Linked DNA regions of Homo sapiens: region 2 is linked to region 1. Evidence: promoter capture Hi-C in 16 types of primary human blood cells and fetal thymus (Javierre and others, 2016). All regions are on one chromosome and are shown on one strand. The core of a region is centred on a gene start or on the middle of the fragment in contact, and the rest is flanking DNA. Distances in the headings are between cores, read along the strand shown.

Region 1 (7,692 bases), core at 1-2,500:
GGTAAGATGCCAACGCCTGTTGAATGAATTAAGCACGTTTTAGTGGGATTTAAGTCCGGCCTCGCAGAAGTTGATTGATTGCATTATTTTCTAGGAGCTGGTCTTGTGGGGCAGCCCTAAAATGTATCTCCAAGTGACCCTGCACTCATCACTTGCTGCCTTGGACTTAGTTTCCTCATTCGTAGAATGGAGACACCACACTTTCTGAAGTGCTTATGAGACTTGCAGGAGGTAAGTAGGCAGCAGGTTTTGATGAATGTAACCTAATGCTTACTATAGGGCTTAATGTGCCTTCTAAATGCTTTAATGTATTAACAAGTGCTTAATTCTTACAATTCTGAATTAAGTACTACTATTATCCACGTTTCAGAGATGAGGACCCTGAGGTCCACAGAGGTTAAATAAGGGTCACACAACCAGTAGGTGACAGAGCAGGGACGTGAACCTAGATCATATTGTGCAAAGCCCTTGCACATAACCAGCAAGCCCTCCTCAACCCTAGCCACGAAAAGCTTCGTCCCTATGTGGCACAACAAACTGTGTCATTGTTAAGACCTAAAAGGAAAAGGCAATGTTAATATTTGCAGATGACAGGAACCCTTGAAAATCTAGGTGCCTCAATTTTAAAATTGAGTGCAATAATAAAGCTTAAGTAAGTAGAAGAAAAATTAGAATTATTTGAATAAGCAAAAACATATTAAAAATGAAATAATATTTCCTCCACAATGGCAACAGAAACCATAAAATACTTAGGGATAAACTTTAACAAGTTACACAATCTTTATTATAAACCTTTACTGAAAAGGCAGTAATAAGGCCCTAGTAAATGTAAAACATGCTGTATTCTTAGGTGAGTAGTCAGTATCAAAAATACTGTCAATTCTTCCCAAGTCAAATTACAAAATTAGTGCAATTCTCATGAGAGTCCCAAATTCTCTTGGGGATATGTGTTTTAGAACTAATTAATTTTAAGTTTTATATGGAAGATCACATAATTAATTATCAAGAAAACTTGGAAACAAAGAAGAGTAGTGTATTAGTCTGTGTTGACTGCTGTAACAAAATATCATAAACTAGGCAGCTTATGAACAACAAATTTATTTCTCACAGTTCTGAAAGTTGGAAATCCAGGATCCAGGTGCTAGCCAATCTGGTCGCTGGTGAGGACCCAGAGATTCACAGATGACTCACAGAAGGCACCTACTCACAGTGCCCTCACATGATAGAAGGGGAAAGCTAGCTCTCTGAGCTCTCTTTTAGTGGCACTTCTAGGGTCTGAAAGTTTGTGTTCCCTCAGATTCATATGTTGAAACCTAATCACCAGTGCAATAGTATTAAAAGGTGGGGCTTTGGGATATTGATTAGGTCATGAGGGCTCTAACCTCATAACTGGAATTAGTGCCTATCTCAGCCCATTTCCACTGCTATAACAGAATACTTTAGACTGAGTGATTTATAAATAATAGACATTATTTCTCAGAGTTCTGAAGGCTAAGAAGTCCAAGATAAAGGTACCAGCAGAGTCAGTGTCTGATAAGAGCTTGCTATCTGCTTCCAAGATAGTGCCTTGTTTTGCTGGGTCCACAGAAGGGGACGAACACTGTGTCCTCACATGAGGGAAGGGATGGGAGGCAAAAGGGCAAAAAAAAAGGGGGGGGAACTAGGACACTCCTGTCAACCTCTTTTGTAAGGATACTATTCCCATTCAAGAGGGTGGAGCCTCATTTCTTAATCACTTCCAAAACGGCTTCAGCTCTTAATGTTATTATAGTGGATTTTAGGCTCCAACATAGGAATTCTAGAGAGACACATACATTTAAGCCATAGCAATGCCCTTATAAAAGGGGCCCAAGGAAGCTTGTTCACCCGTTCTTTACCATGTGAAGACATAGAAAAAGGTGTCATCTATGAAGCAGAGAGTGAGGCCTCACCAGACACTGAATCTGCCAGTGCCTTAATCTTGGACTCCCAGCTTCCAGAACTCTGAGCGATAAATTTCTGCTGTTTATAAATGACCCAGTCTGAGGTAGTCTTATAGTAGGCTGAATGGACTAAGATAGGAACTAATCCAATTCATGAGGGCAGAGCCAGCAGCCTCACCTCCTAATACCATCGTCTCCCAGCTGCCCCGCCTCCTAATACCATCGTCTCCCGGCAGCCCCGCCTCCTAATACCATCGTCTCCCGGCAGCCCCGCCTCCTAATACCATCCTGTCCCAGCAGCTCCACTTCCTCATACCATCATGTCCCAGCAGCCCCACCTCCTCATACCGTCATCTCCCAGCAGCCCCACCTCCTCATACCGTCATCTCCCAGCAGCCCCACCTCCTCATACCATAATGTTCCAGCAGCCCCACCTCCTAATACCTTTGTCTCCTATCAGCCCCACCTCCTAATACCATCGTGTTCCAGCGGCTCCACCTCCTAATACCGTCATCTTCCAGCAGCCCCACCTCCTAATACCATTACATTGGTGATTAGATTTCAACATCTGGGTTTGGGAGGGCACACAAACATTTAGACCGTAGCAAACAGTACCTGTTTGCCCTACACAAAATTGAATAAACTGAACAACAAGATTTTAGGACAGAAATAGGAAAACAGTGCAATAGAAGGATAGATCTATTCTTTTACTTCAGATACGTTCAAGTAAAATCACATTTAATATAGAATGTATAGAATTACCCCCATTATAGTAGAAATATTTCTGTCAATCTAACCATCTGTCTGTACGTATCTGTACCTATCTATCCAGTGGGAATGATATATATGGTTTATATATCCATATATGGTGTGAATATATGATATGATGTATAGATATATCTGGAATTTTGTTTATATATATGTATATTACATATATATATAATCCAGAATGATGTCTGTTTAATGATAAAGATAGTTATTTCCAATGAGTTAGTGTATAAATTTTCTAGAGCTGCCCCGACAAATTACCACAGACTGATGTCTTAAATGAACAGAAATGTATTCACTTACAGTTCTGGAGTCCAGCAGTCCAAAATCAAATGTCAGCAAAGTTGGTTCCTTTGGAGGCTCTGGAGAAGAATCTGTTCACTGCCTCTCACTTAGCTCCTGGTGCTTGCTGGCATTCCTTGGCTTTTAGTCCCTGTCTCCATCTTTACTGTACGTCTGTCCTCTTCTTATAAGACCACTGGAGATTGGATGTAGAGGTATAGGGGATTATGGAGCTTTTAAAAGAGGATGATATTGGGGCGGGCGTGGTGGCTCATGCCTGTAATCCCAGCACTTTGGGAGGCTGAGGCGGGTGGATCACAAAGTCAAGAGTTCAAGACCAGCCTGGTCAAGATGGTGAAACCCCGTCTCTACTAAAAATACAAAAGTTAGCCAGGCGTGGTGGCGGGTGCCTGTAATCCCAGCTACTCAGGAGGCTGAGGCAGAGAATTGCTTGAACCCAGGAGGCAGAGGTTGCAGTGAGCTAAGATCGGGCTACTGCACTCTAGCCTAAGTGACAGAGCAAGACTCTGTCTAAAAAAAAAAAGATGATATTTACCCTGCTCAGGCTCTGGCCATGTCTTTTGGCTGCTGCCAGGAAAAAAAAAAAAAAAAAAAAAAAGGAAAAAGTGCATGAAAGCCCTTAATTTACCAGGGATCATCTCTGAGGATGCATTGAAGGAATGAGGAACACACACATTTTATGCCTGCATTTTATAGTATAATTATCAAAATCTTGACATTTCACACTCCCTGAACTCACCTTATTTTCTCATGTATTTCTTTATTGACTATTTTTTGCCACCAGAATCCAAATTCTCGGCATCTTGACTGTTTTGTGTCCACTGACACCCTATGGGTTAGCTAACCTCGATAAATATATGCCGAATACACCTTGAAAGAAGAGAATTGCATGGTTTTTTATCCTAAGTATAAGTTTGGCTTCATTTGTTTTGTTTTGTTTTGTTTTGTTTTCAGACTCTTAAAATTTTTAGTTGCCTCCCTTCCTCCATTCCCTTCTCCAATAAAAGCATTTTCTCAGTTCATGTTTGAATAATTAGGATAGCCAAATATAAATAACACATCATTCAAATCCAGATCATTCCAAAGAACAATTTAATGTAAAAAATAGGAGATGCATGAATGTATCTTTCCTCCTTAATATGGTTTGGCTGTTTTCCCAACCAAAATCTCATTTTGAATTGTAATCCCCATAAACCCCATGTGTCAAGGGAGAGACCAGGTGGAGGTAATTGAATCATGGGGGTGGTTTCCGCATGCTGTTGTCATGATGGTGAGTGAGTTCTCATGAGATCTGATGGTTTTATAAGTGGTAGTTCCTCCTGGGTTCATTTCTTCTTCCTGCCACCTTGTAAAGAAGGTGCCTTGCTTTCCCTTCACCTTGGGCCATGATTGTAAGTCTCCTGAGGCCTCCTCAGCCATGCTGAAATGTGAGTCAATTAAACCTCTTTCCTTTATAAATTACCCAGTCTCGGGCAGTTCTTTATAGTAGTGTGAAAACAGACTAATATACTCCTAATTCTTAAATTACTGATCCTAATTCTTAAATTAAATTGATCCTCAATTGTTTTTGCCAACTTTTCAAAGTTTGAGATGTATTTTACAACATGCCCATGAAGCGTCGTAAGTATTGATTGCCTTGTTAATGGAAAATACCATCTTAGTTGCTCAGAGAGTTATGTCTACACTTACAGTGCAGGTGGAGTCCTTGGGCACCATGGTCCCACTCTCTCTATAGTGTTGTTTCTTAGAATCTCACCTACCTAACTTTTCCTGAGCTGTCTGACACCCAGTTTATGCCCATTTCTCCCTATCCCACTGACTCCCAGTCCCTTGGTAGGTTGTCTCCTTGGCAGCACTTTATTCATAAGTTCTAAAAATGACATATAAATGTGTTCAATAATTTAAAGGTAAACGTCAACACAATGAAAATAAACCTAAAAAAATAAAAATAAACATGTTCATTAATTATTTAATATTCATCTCTCTAGCTAAAAAGTGAGCTCCTTTGGTTTGGGGGTTGGCGGGGCAGGGGGTTGGGGGAGTTGGCGTCCGTGTCTAAGATTCGGGTCATCCATCTCAGGCCTAGGACCTAGGAGCACATGATGGGACGCGGTCAACAAAACATTCAGAATGAGCAAATCAATATGGAACGTGTTGTCTGGCTTTTCTTGGCAGCATGGGTTCTTTGAAGAGTTTTAAAGAGAATTCACAATTACTGAATATTACATAATTTGAAGATGAGTAAACTGCTTTCATCACTGCTCTGGCAATAAAATCTGGAAATCTGGAGAACTCTAGCTTCTAAAAACTATCTTATGATCCAATTCAGAATGTGTAGTTCTGCACACATCGTACATTTCTTTTTCCTAAGCCAAATGATCATCAATTCATCTAAAACCATTGTCAGGAGGCCCTATGCTATGCAAGACTAATTGTGAGTGTGACTGTATGCAAAAACAAACAAACAAACAAGGGAAAAAAAGCTTGTTAAAAAGGGAATTCTTTACTCAAGAGGCAGGAAAAAAATACCTCCTGACTAGGGAAAGCACATATTGATAGTTCCAGCAGCAACAAACCTGGAGATCTCTGTCATTTCTGTTCAAGTGCATGAAAAGCAAGGCAGCAAAAGCTGTTGGTGCTGTGAGCATAGAAGGCTAAGGACATACTTCCCAGCAACTTGCTCGGACTGGACGGTGACTGGAGCTGATTCCTGAGATGGGAGTGTGAGCTTGGCAGGCTTTGACATGGAGCCAGGCCAAAGTGGGAGGCCAAATTTACAGTGTCAAATAAACCATGACTTAGGCGAGATTTTGTTCAAAAGTATCATTGGAAGGGGTTGGATGGTGGTGGGGTGTGGGGAGACTATTGTAATAAATAGAACACTCTACACATGAGATCTGCAGGCATCTCAAGAGTTAGGCAAAAAGTGGTTTTGTTTTATAGGAGGAATAAACAAGGAAGTGATGTGAGGAAGTGGATGAAGGGGTCCCAAAAGTGGGTAGTGGATCAGGGAACATTCTTCTGGAGGCCAGCCTGTTCTTAGGAGTGAGTGAAGACCAGCTCAGGCTGATGGTGGGCCAAGGTTCTGGGACCTGGGGAAAGGACAGAAACTTAACCAAAGTTCAATAAATAAGAATTTTGTTTCCATTAATTTCAGGGGAAAAAATAGTTCAGCTAATCTATGAGGCAAAGAATAGGAATTTGGAAGGCCCAGTCTGGCCTGTCATAAGTAAACAGGGGCAGGGGTGGGGTGATATGGTTAAGCTTTGTGTCCCCACCCAAATCTCACCTTGAATTGTAATCCCCATAATCCCCACTTGTCAAGGGAGAGACCAGGTGGAGGAAATTGAATCATGGATGTGGTTTCTCCCATGCTGGTCTCGTGATAATGAGTGAATTATCATGAGATCTGATGGTTTTATAAGGGGCTCTTCTCCCTTCGTTCAACACTTCTCCTTCCTGCCGCCTTGTGAAGAAGACGCCTTGCTTCCCCTTGGCCTTACACCATGATTGTAAGTTCCCTGAGGCCTCCCCAGTCATGCTGAACTGTGAGTCAATTAAATCTCTTTCCTTTATATTAGGGTGGTGCAAAAGTAATTGCAGTTTTTGCCATTGAAAGTAATAAATTACCCAGCCTTCAGCAGCTCTTTATAGCAGTATGAAAACAGACTAATACAGGGGGCTTCCATGAGTCTAATTTAAGTCATACAAGGAAGAGGGATCTTGAAGTTAAGTCATTTCCTCTAGCACGAAGGATGGGAGATTTCTTAGCATCCTCTGTTTTCTAAGAACACAGGTAAAATTCAACACTGTCAGCAGTAAGGGCTTCTAAGGACAACTTAAGAGTCTTCTTTTTTCCTTTCCCAACTCTCATCCTTTCTTTAGGTAGAGAAGATTTCCTGACCTGTATCTTTTTCCCTCCCTCTGAAGAACTTCTTTCAACATTTCTTGCAAGGCAGATTTACTGGTGACAAATGCCCTCAGTTTTGTTGATTTGAGTCTTTATTTCTCCATCACCTTTGAAGGATAATTTTGCAGGATACAAAATTTTACATGAGTTTTTTATTCCTTCAAATCTTTGAATCTTTACTCCACTCTCTTGCTGGCCTGGTTATGGACTAGAAGTCTGATGGAATGCCCATCTTTGTTCCTTTCTGGGTGGGTGTCCCCCACCATGCCACCCCTACCCCAGGATTTTTTCAAGATTTTTCCCTAGGTCTTTGTTTTTCTGTAGTCTGAGTATGATACGCTCAGGTGTTGATTTGGGGGTATTAATTGTGCTTGTTGTTCTCTGAGCTTCTTTAATCTATGGTTTGATTTTTGTTAATAATTTTAGAAAATTCTCAGTCATTATAATCTTTAAATATTTCTTCTGCTCCTTCACTTTCTTTGTTCTCCTTTTGGTATTCATTAGTGTGTGTTATGCCTTTTATGTCTCACCATTCTAGCATATTCTATTTCTTTTAAAATATTTTTTTTCTTCTCCTTGCATTTCAGTTTGGGAAGTTTCTGTTGATGTCTCTTCAAGCTCACTGATTCTTTCTGTGGCTGTGTCCAGTCTACTCATGAGCCCATCAGGGTGCATGCTTCATTTTTGTTATGGAAGTGGTTTTGGTTTCTAAGGTTTCTTTGCTTCTTTCTTATAATCTTCATCTCTCTGCTTACATTACCCATCTGTTCTTGCATGTTGTCCAATTTT
Region 2 (7,692 bases), core at 2,351-4,850, 8.0 Mb before region 1:
AGAGAAAAAAAGCAAAGGCTTCAGCAACTTTCATTAAACATTTACTTTAAATGGTAACCTCATTCAGATCTACCACTTTCAACCCCTCCCCTAGGACCTGGCACATGAAAGTTCAATAAGGGTTGCTGATTGAATAAATTAAAAAATCAGCCTCCTATTTCTAATTTCTTTAGCCAATCTAACTAGCAATGAGATAAACTTTAATGTTTGCAAAAGTAACCATAAAACAGTAACACTGCATGATGAGTGGGAGTAGGAGGAGTAGTAGTTTCCAATCACAAATTTGCCACATAATATATGATCTCACCTTGGTCAGTTAAGTCTTCCTTGGTCTCCACATCTACAAAATGGTATAATATCATCTACATCTCAAACGGTACCGGTAAGAATCAAGAGGCATAAAAATGATTTGCAAAACATTGAAAAATGGTGTTTATACTAACATGGTTGTTATTTTTCAAGCATCCTTGCCTAGGCCACCTGAATTCACTCTGCTTTATTTTTTTATTTTATTTTTTTTTTTGAGACGGAGTCTGCCTCTGTCGCCCAGGCTGGGGTGCAACGGCACAATCTCAGCTCAACGCAACCTCCGCCTCCCGGGTTCAAGTGATTCTCCTGCCTCAGCCTCCCGAGTAGCTGGGATTACAGGCGTGTGCCACCACGCCCAGCTAATTTTTTGGATTTTTAGTAGAAACAGGGTTTCACCATGTTAGCCAGGATGGTCTCGATCTCCTGACCTCATGATCCGCCCACTTCGGCCTCTCAAACTGCTGAGATTACAGACTCTGCTGTCTTTCTAAGCCAACTCCTTATAAGCCCTGGTCAGGAGACAAGAAAAAGGGAGGGCTATGAGGCCTATCAGAGCAAGCCATAGAAGAGATACGGACTTCTCTCCTCCCATTTAGCAGACAACAGTCGAAAGCAGGTGTGTTTTTAATTGAATCTTCAGCAACAACTCTTAGGGAAGCCTCCCAGGGCAGTAGCAACTGCTAATTTGAAGTAGAAAATAAATGTGCTGTTGTTTTTCTTTTGTGGGGTGGGGGAGGAGAAAAGAATGTTCTTCCCCAAATGATACACTGTTACCATACAGTCTGTAGATGTACTTAGGTACAGGAATGACTGGCAGAAGCCAACTTACCTACCTCTAAAACTGTAAAACTGTAACAGCTGAAAATCTGATCATCTTTTCCACTGAGAAACACTTAAGATCTTTCATACTGAGAAAACAAAATAAAAACAGTTCCCATGTAACACAACCTAACAGATACATAATAGTTGAGAGGCAAAGTTATTAAGGAAATGTATCTTCTTTTCCCAAGGTTTAAGAATTCTGACCCACTCAAAAAAAAAAGTGAGGATAAAAATGAAAAGGTGAGATACTAGATATCACCTGGTAACCATCTGATACTGACTTCACGGCACCAGCCAAAGGGGCTTTAGTACCTTTTCAAACTGATTCGCTATCCACAAAGGCCAATTAACCTAGTAAGTGAGGCATTTGTGCTAGATTCCAACCTGATGAACACGGTATAAATATCAACCTAAAGGAAATATTGATAAAACTTTTTTTTTAAATCATTACAAGAGTCCTTTCTTGCTCGACTAGTAAGAAATTACTTTTTTCACCCAGTTCACTCTGACCTACACACCTCTAAATTCATACCAAAGCGGCTTTAGAAAATACCAAGAAACCACATCTGATTGTTACCCAGCAGTCAGCAGAAGTTTAGGTTTTGAATGCATGCTAAATTCAACGCTCCTTAAATGAGAGTCGACAAAAGAATATTCTTCAAGCATCTTCCCAGTCACTCTTAAGATAATAACTTAACTGTTGCTGCTTAAATGTATATTTATTTACTGCTTAAACATATATACACACATATATATACTGCTTATATATACACACACACACACACACACACATATACACACACACACACTTGGACTAAAATTCTAGCTGCCATTAAAGTGGTAACTTTGAGTTCCTATTTTTCCAGAATTCAAACCTGAACAGTGAAATCCAGTTTTCTTTTTACGGTTTCAAAAAAAGAAGGGAGAGGGATGATCTCACTGGAAGAGGCGAGCAGACCCCAGAGGCAGTCCCAGGTCTGGGCTCTGTGCTTCTCAGCCCTCAAGACACAGGGAAGGAGCCTGTTGGTACCTGTAAATCAACCAGTAATCTACTTGGATGCTTTTGGTTTTCTTCAAACACTTAACGTTCACTCAGCTAAACTGGCAGAGCAAACTTTCATGACATATCCTAACTGCATCCTAAGATTTCCATCCTAAGCATTTTGCCACCATTTCTGCGCCTACAAAGTTTACAAGAGTTAGCCAAGGACGGTAGCTTTGTTTTTCAAAGGGCTAAAAGCAACGACAACGAAAACAACAACAACAAAAAACCTTTAACTTATACATGTAAATTTGAAATTCAACTCCTCTCCCACTCCCCAAAAAGTCACTGGTAGGCCAAGGTGTCACCAAGTACCGAAAGAGAGGTTTACTGGGCGAAGAATTCCTGTAAATGCAACCAAGTCTCAAAGTGAAAGTCCAGGGTCCCGGGGCCGGGCCCGGGACCCTGGTGCGCGGCTGTCCGAGGGATTCCTCCTTCCAGAAGGTTTGCAACTCGCACTTTCCCCCGGTCCGCAGGTGCACGGGGGCTCCGGGCAAAGCCACTGCAAGTGGAACTCGCGGTTACCTTCCTCCACTCCACCCTGCCTACTCCGCTCGGGCCCGGACGAGTCCAGGCGCGCTCCCCGTCCCCGCCCTGCCCAGGTCTCCCGCCCGCCTGCCCGGGGGTGGGGGACGAGCCTGGGGGACGCGTCCTGGGGCCCTCCGCCAACCCGGCCACCACGCAGGGCCCCGGGACCCGGCGGGGGCCTCCAAGGGCATCACTCCACCTCACTTCTCCCGGGGACAGGGCCACCCAGGGCCTGCAGCTCCGGAAGAGTGTTGGGGCGAGGGGAGCGCGGAGGACTAGGCGCCCGCACCCCCACATCCGGACCCAGGCCGCGGTTCCTACGGCTCCTGCACGCACACGCCGGAGACCTCGGCCGCCGGAGCCGGCAGGGACGCCCAGGGACTCGGACTCGGACCCCCGGCCGAGCCGGGCGCGCGGGGAGCCAGGCTCCGGCGCGACCCCGGCCGGCTGAGCGTAGGGGGACGCCGTGTGGATACCGCCAAGTTGCTGCTTCCGCCCCGGTCGCGCATCCCGGCCCCGCGGCCCGCGCCCGCCTACCTGCATGCCGGGCAGGCCCGACTGCACCGGGGAGTGAGCCATGGCGCTCAGGACGGCCACTTCCTGGGACGGGACGGCCGGGCCGCGACGATCCGCGCGGGGCGGCGAGGCCCGCGGGCCGCGCGCAGCCCTCGGGCGGCGGGGCCGGCCGGAGCCCGAGGCCACCCCAGCCCTGGCGGGTCCCGGCCGGGCGGCGGGGGCTCAGCGGCGGGTGGCGGGCCGCGTCTCCATGCACGGCGCCAGGGAGGAGCTGCTGGGGGCGCAGGGCCTCGCGCGCACTGCCGCCGCCGCCGCTGCTGCCGCTACTGCTGGGCTGGAGCCGGGCGGCCTGGGCCCGCGCGCGCTGGCCGCTGGAGCCGGAGTGGGCGCGCACAGCCCGCCGAGCCCGCGAGCGCCGAGCGCGTCCCGCCCCGGCCCGGCCCCCGCGCCCGCCCCCACGGCCCGGCCGGGGACCCCGCCCCGCGCTTCCGGGAGGGGGAGGGGAGAGGCCGGTGGCCGCGCGGGAGCCCTAGGCCGCAGCCGCCGCCTGTCGGCCCGGCCCGGGTCCCAGCTGCTCCTGCGGCGCTCCCACGCCCCCGCGGGCGGGCGGCGGGGCCGGGAGGGGGCCTCGGCTGGGGCGGGCGCCGGGAGGGACCGAGTCGGGGCCGGAGGCTGGCCGCGTGCCCACCGGGCCGGCGCCGGGGCGAGCCTGGGCCGCGGCCCCCTCTTCCCGCCAGCCAGCCCACCCCGCCCCGGCGGCCTCTGGGAAAACGCGTCCCGGGCGAGCCCCTGAGGGCAGGATCGGAGTCGGGGGCACCTGGGGAAGGAGAGCGCCCCGTGGGGCCTCGGCCGGTGGCCTGTGCCAAAAGGCCGGGCAGAGCTGCTTCGGTGTCTGGGTGAAGTTTCCAGCCAACCCAAGAAGGAAACCGAAAGGGAAGAGGCCGAGAGAGAGGTTAATTCCTAGTGCTTTGGTTACCGAAAACAGCCCGGCTGGGACTGCTGGGCTGGGAACTTAGCTAAGCAGTGCGGAGGCTGAACCCCACCATCTCTGGGATCCGCAGCAAATCAGAAGCCCCCACCCACGATAAGGGGAAAATGGGGCGCAGAGGGCAGGGAGGAAGGGAAGAGAATGGAAGGAAAGCGCGTCTGGACTTTGAACTGCAGCCCTCTCCCTCTTTCCCTTGCCTCGGAAGCTCCAGGCCCACTCAGCACCAGTTCTGTCTCCTCTTTTCAGCCGCCTTCTCTCTAGCTACTGAGGGGAAAAGTCAGGATGAAGCGGGTCCCTCGGCCTCCAGAAGGTGTTTTATTACAGTCGCAAACAGGTAGAGCGGCAGCCACCCCAGTGATGACTCCCTGCTCCTTAGATTGTAGGGACGCTGGCACCTCACTCATGCTCCTAAGTGGCCATTTTGCGCCCTGGCTGGGCGAGTTAGGCAGACAAAATGAGCCCCCAAAAGTTTAAAGGCCTCCACCAAAGGAGTATTTCTTTTCTGAGGTGTCATTGTATTCCATCCACGAACTTCAGTTCCCCCGGGTGCTCTGGATCTGACATGGAGTAGGATGCTAACATCTAATCCCTTCTTTCCCTTTGGAAAGATGCATGTTTTTTCTCGGAGTCCTAGGGAATACCTTAGAATACTTTCATGGTTGTCATTGGTACACCCATCCCTTGAGGAGCCCTGCCACCCGTAAGTAGGACTGCAAGGAAATACAAAATTAAGAGAAGTATGAACCCTGATACCCAGGAACTTAAAATCAGGTGTATAAATTTTGTACACCTAAAAAATATGGTACCTAAAGAGGCGAACAGCAAAACAAGCAAGAATGTGAATCTTTAAAATGTTTCTATTCTTCAGCGCAGCCCAGGAATTCTACCTAAAGTAACATATCCTAAGGCAACAACCAAGAAGTGTGGAAGAATGCATGTAAGAAGACACAGTGATGTTTAGAATCCTGGGGAAACGGAACAGCCAAAAAGTCTCACAGAGGTTAAGTAAATAATAGCATTTTCATACGAGTACTATGTAGTCATTTAAAATTATGTCTTTCAGTACCTAGTAATGGGGAAAATGTATTCATTATATATTATTAAAGAAAATACAGGGTACAAAACACTGTATATAGACTGATCTCAAATGACTATATATATATTAATATATATGGCCTACAGACACACAGTCATGTATTGCTTAACAATGGGTATACATTCTGAGAAATGTGTTCTTAGTTGATTTTGTCACGTGAGCATCATAGAGTGTACTTCCAGAAACCTAGATGGCATAGCCTACTACACACCTAGGCTATATGGTATGACGTATTGCACCTGGACCACAAACCTGAACAGCATGTGACTGAACTCAATACTGGAGGCAACTATAACACAATGGTAAATATTTGTGGATCTAAACATGTCTAAGCATAGAAAAGGGACAGTAAAAATATTCTTCTAGGGTCAGCAGAGCCAGGGCAATAACCTGGCACCAAGATAAAGAGCAAGAAACTAGATGAATGGATGGAAATGTCTGGATGCTGATCTGAGACATTACCATGGTAAATGCTCAGAAATCACTTTGCAGTGGGCTAATTGCCAGCAAATAAGTCACAGCAGATGGGGGACAAAGGCCCATAGTACCCTGGGTATAAAAAAATAACCGGAATCCTAGTTTGTGTCCTGAGGCTAGTGAGGCTCAAAACAGGGAGATTCCGGCAGGATGTAACTTCTCTGGACACAGTGACTTGCATCCATTAGCTGGTCTGTTGCCCCGAACCCTGTTTATCTTCTCTCCACACTGACCATTGTTTCATCCTTTGACAATGTTCATACTGTTGAGCACCATTCTTATCGAAAGAAGGGAAGGAAGCAACATGGGAGTTACTGGTTCTCCTTGGCCCTATGCAGGTAGTACCGAGTATTCCCCATGGCAGAAGTAGGTCTCCACCTTATTTGTTTTTGCACAACAGAGATGATGCACAGGGCCTGAGCCCGGGATCAGATCCGGTGCAATTGCCTATTATGTTCATTCATTCACACCTTTTTTGAATACCAACTATTAATACATGTCAGATACCCAGTTCAGTACTGGGCATATAAACATTAGATCCTCAGGTGCCTCTTAACCCATCCTAGGGACCTGGTCTCCCAGAATCCTAACTTTGGATGAATACAATACCATAATTGATTAAACTTAGAGTGGCAATAGCTATCATTTCCACCAAGGAAAGAAAAGGATCATCCTCTCACCCTCTTCCTCTTGTCACTTTCCCTCCACCCCCAATGTATGATTACAACAGGTTATACACTACCGTAAGTCCAGAAGGAGATTATGAGAGTCTCCATAGAGATGATGCATTTTATGGTCTCCATGGAGATACTAACCCATTGAGTTATTTACTTTATCCATTGAATTATTTTTCTTCCCTGGTCCTCTTTGTCTTTTGTGTTCACTTAAGGACATCAGTCTGGCAATGAATTATGATCTGAAATATATTCTGGACCACAAAGAATATTTCCATACCCCTATATGGAGCCCCTCCAAATATAAAGCCCCTATGTATTTGCTGCCCCTAAGCTAGTTTGTACGCACTCTCAGCAGAGCTCAGAGAGGAACAGAAAACAAGAATTCCACAATCAATCCCTTCACTTTTCTTTCTAAGTTGAAAAGATAAACACCCCCAAATGCTGCTTTATAAAGAACAGCTAGACAAGTAGAGCATTAGCAATTTAAATTCAGAGATTAAAGAAAGGGACTTACATGGTGAACTTTAAAGGGAGAAATAGGAGTAGCTTGGATAAGTAACTAACAGAAGGCTTAGACAAATTTCTACACATGTTCAGTAGGTGAAGACAAATTATCAAGATCAGTTTAAAGAAGAATGTCTAGTCATTGTTGGATGACACAATAGCAAGAAAAGGTATGCCAAAGCCCCAGAAAAATATCCCAGCTACATTGAGGAATGGTACCAATAAGGTTTCATTCTGTGCGTGGAGAGCTCAGAGGGCAGGCTCTTGCAGGGATATCACCCTAAGTAGGTTTTCAGTTGCACCCTGCCTTAGTTTGCTAGGGCTGCCGTAACAAAGAACCACCAACTGGATGGCCAAAACGACAGAAATTTATTTCCTCACCATTCTGGAGGCTGGAAGTCCAAGATGAAGGTGTCAGCAAGATTGGTTTCTTCCGAGGCCTCTCTCGGGCTTGTAGCGGCCAGCTTCTCCCTCTGTGTTCTCGTGGTCTTCACTGTGTGTTCCTGTGTCCTAATTTCCTGTTTTTATTATTTATTTATTTATTTATTTATTTATTTATTTATTTATTTTGAGATGGAGTCTCGCTCTGTTGCCCAGGTTGGAGTGCAGTGGTGAGATCTCGGCTCCCTGCAACCGCTGTCTCCCAGGTTCAAGCATTTTTCTTGCCTCAGCCTCCCTGGTAGCTGGGACTACAGGCGAGCGCCACCACACCCGGCTAATTTTTGTATTTTTA

What was found. The method cuts DNA at HindIII sites, captures the fragments that hold promoters and counts their contacts. A CHiCAGO score of 5 or more calls a contact.
Region 2: a contact is called between the fragment with the promoter of STK24 here and a fragment that was not itself captured in region 1, in 1 of 17 cell types (activated CD4 T cells). The highest score is 6.6, in activated CD4 T cells.

The regions. Positions count from the first base shown.
Region 1 is chr13:106,568,342-106,576,033 of GRCh38, forward strand. No RefSeq gene overlaps it. Among named protein-coding and RNA genes, the nearest start is that of ARGLU1, 4.1 kb to the left of the region's middle. RefSeq lists an enhancer at 1-62. The HindIII fragment of the contact is 1,210 bases long and covers 646-1,855 here.
Region 2 is chr13:98,573,507-98,581,198 of GRCh38, forward strand. STK24 (serine/threonine kinase 24) reads right to left here and starts at 3,601. Exons shown (of 11, transcript NM_001032296.4): 1 at 3,239-3,601. The coding sequence starts at 3,280. STK24-AS1 (STK24 antisense RNA 1) reads left to right here and starts at 3,749. Exons shown (of 1, transcript NR_046542.1): 1 at 3,749-5,335. RefSeq lists silencers at 1,111-1,170, 2,635-3,504, 3,555-3,864, 3,885-4,034 and an enhancer at 4,125-4,314. The HindIII fragment of the contact is 9,197 bases long and covers 1-7,692 here.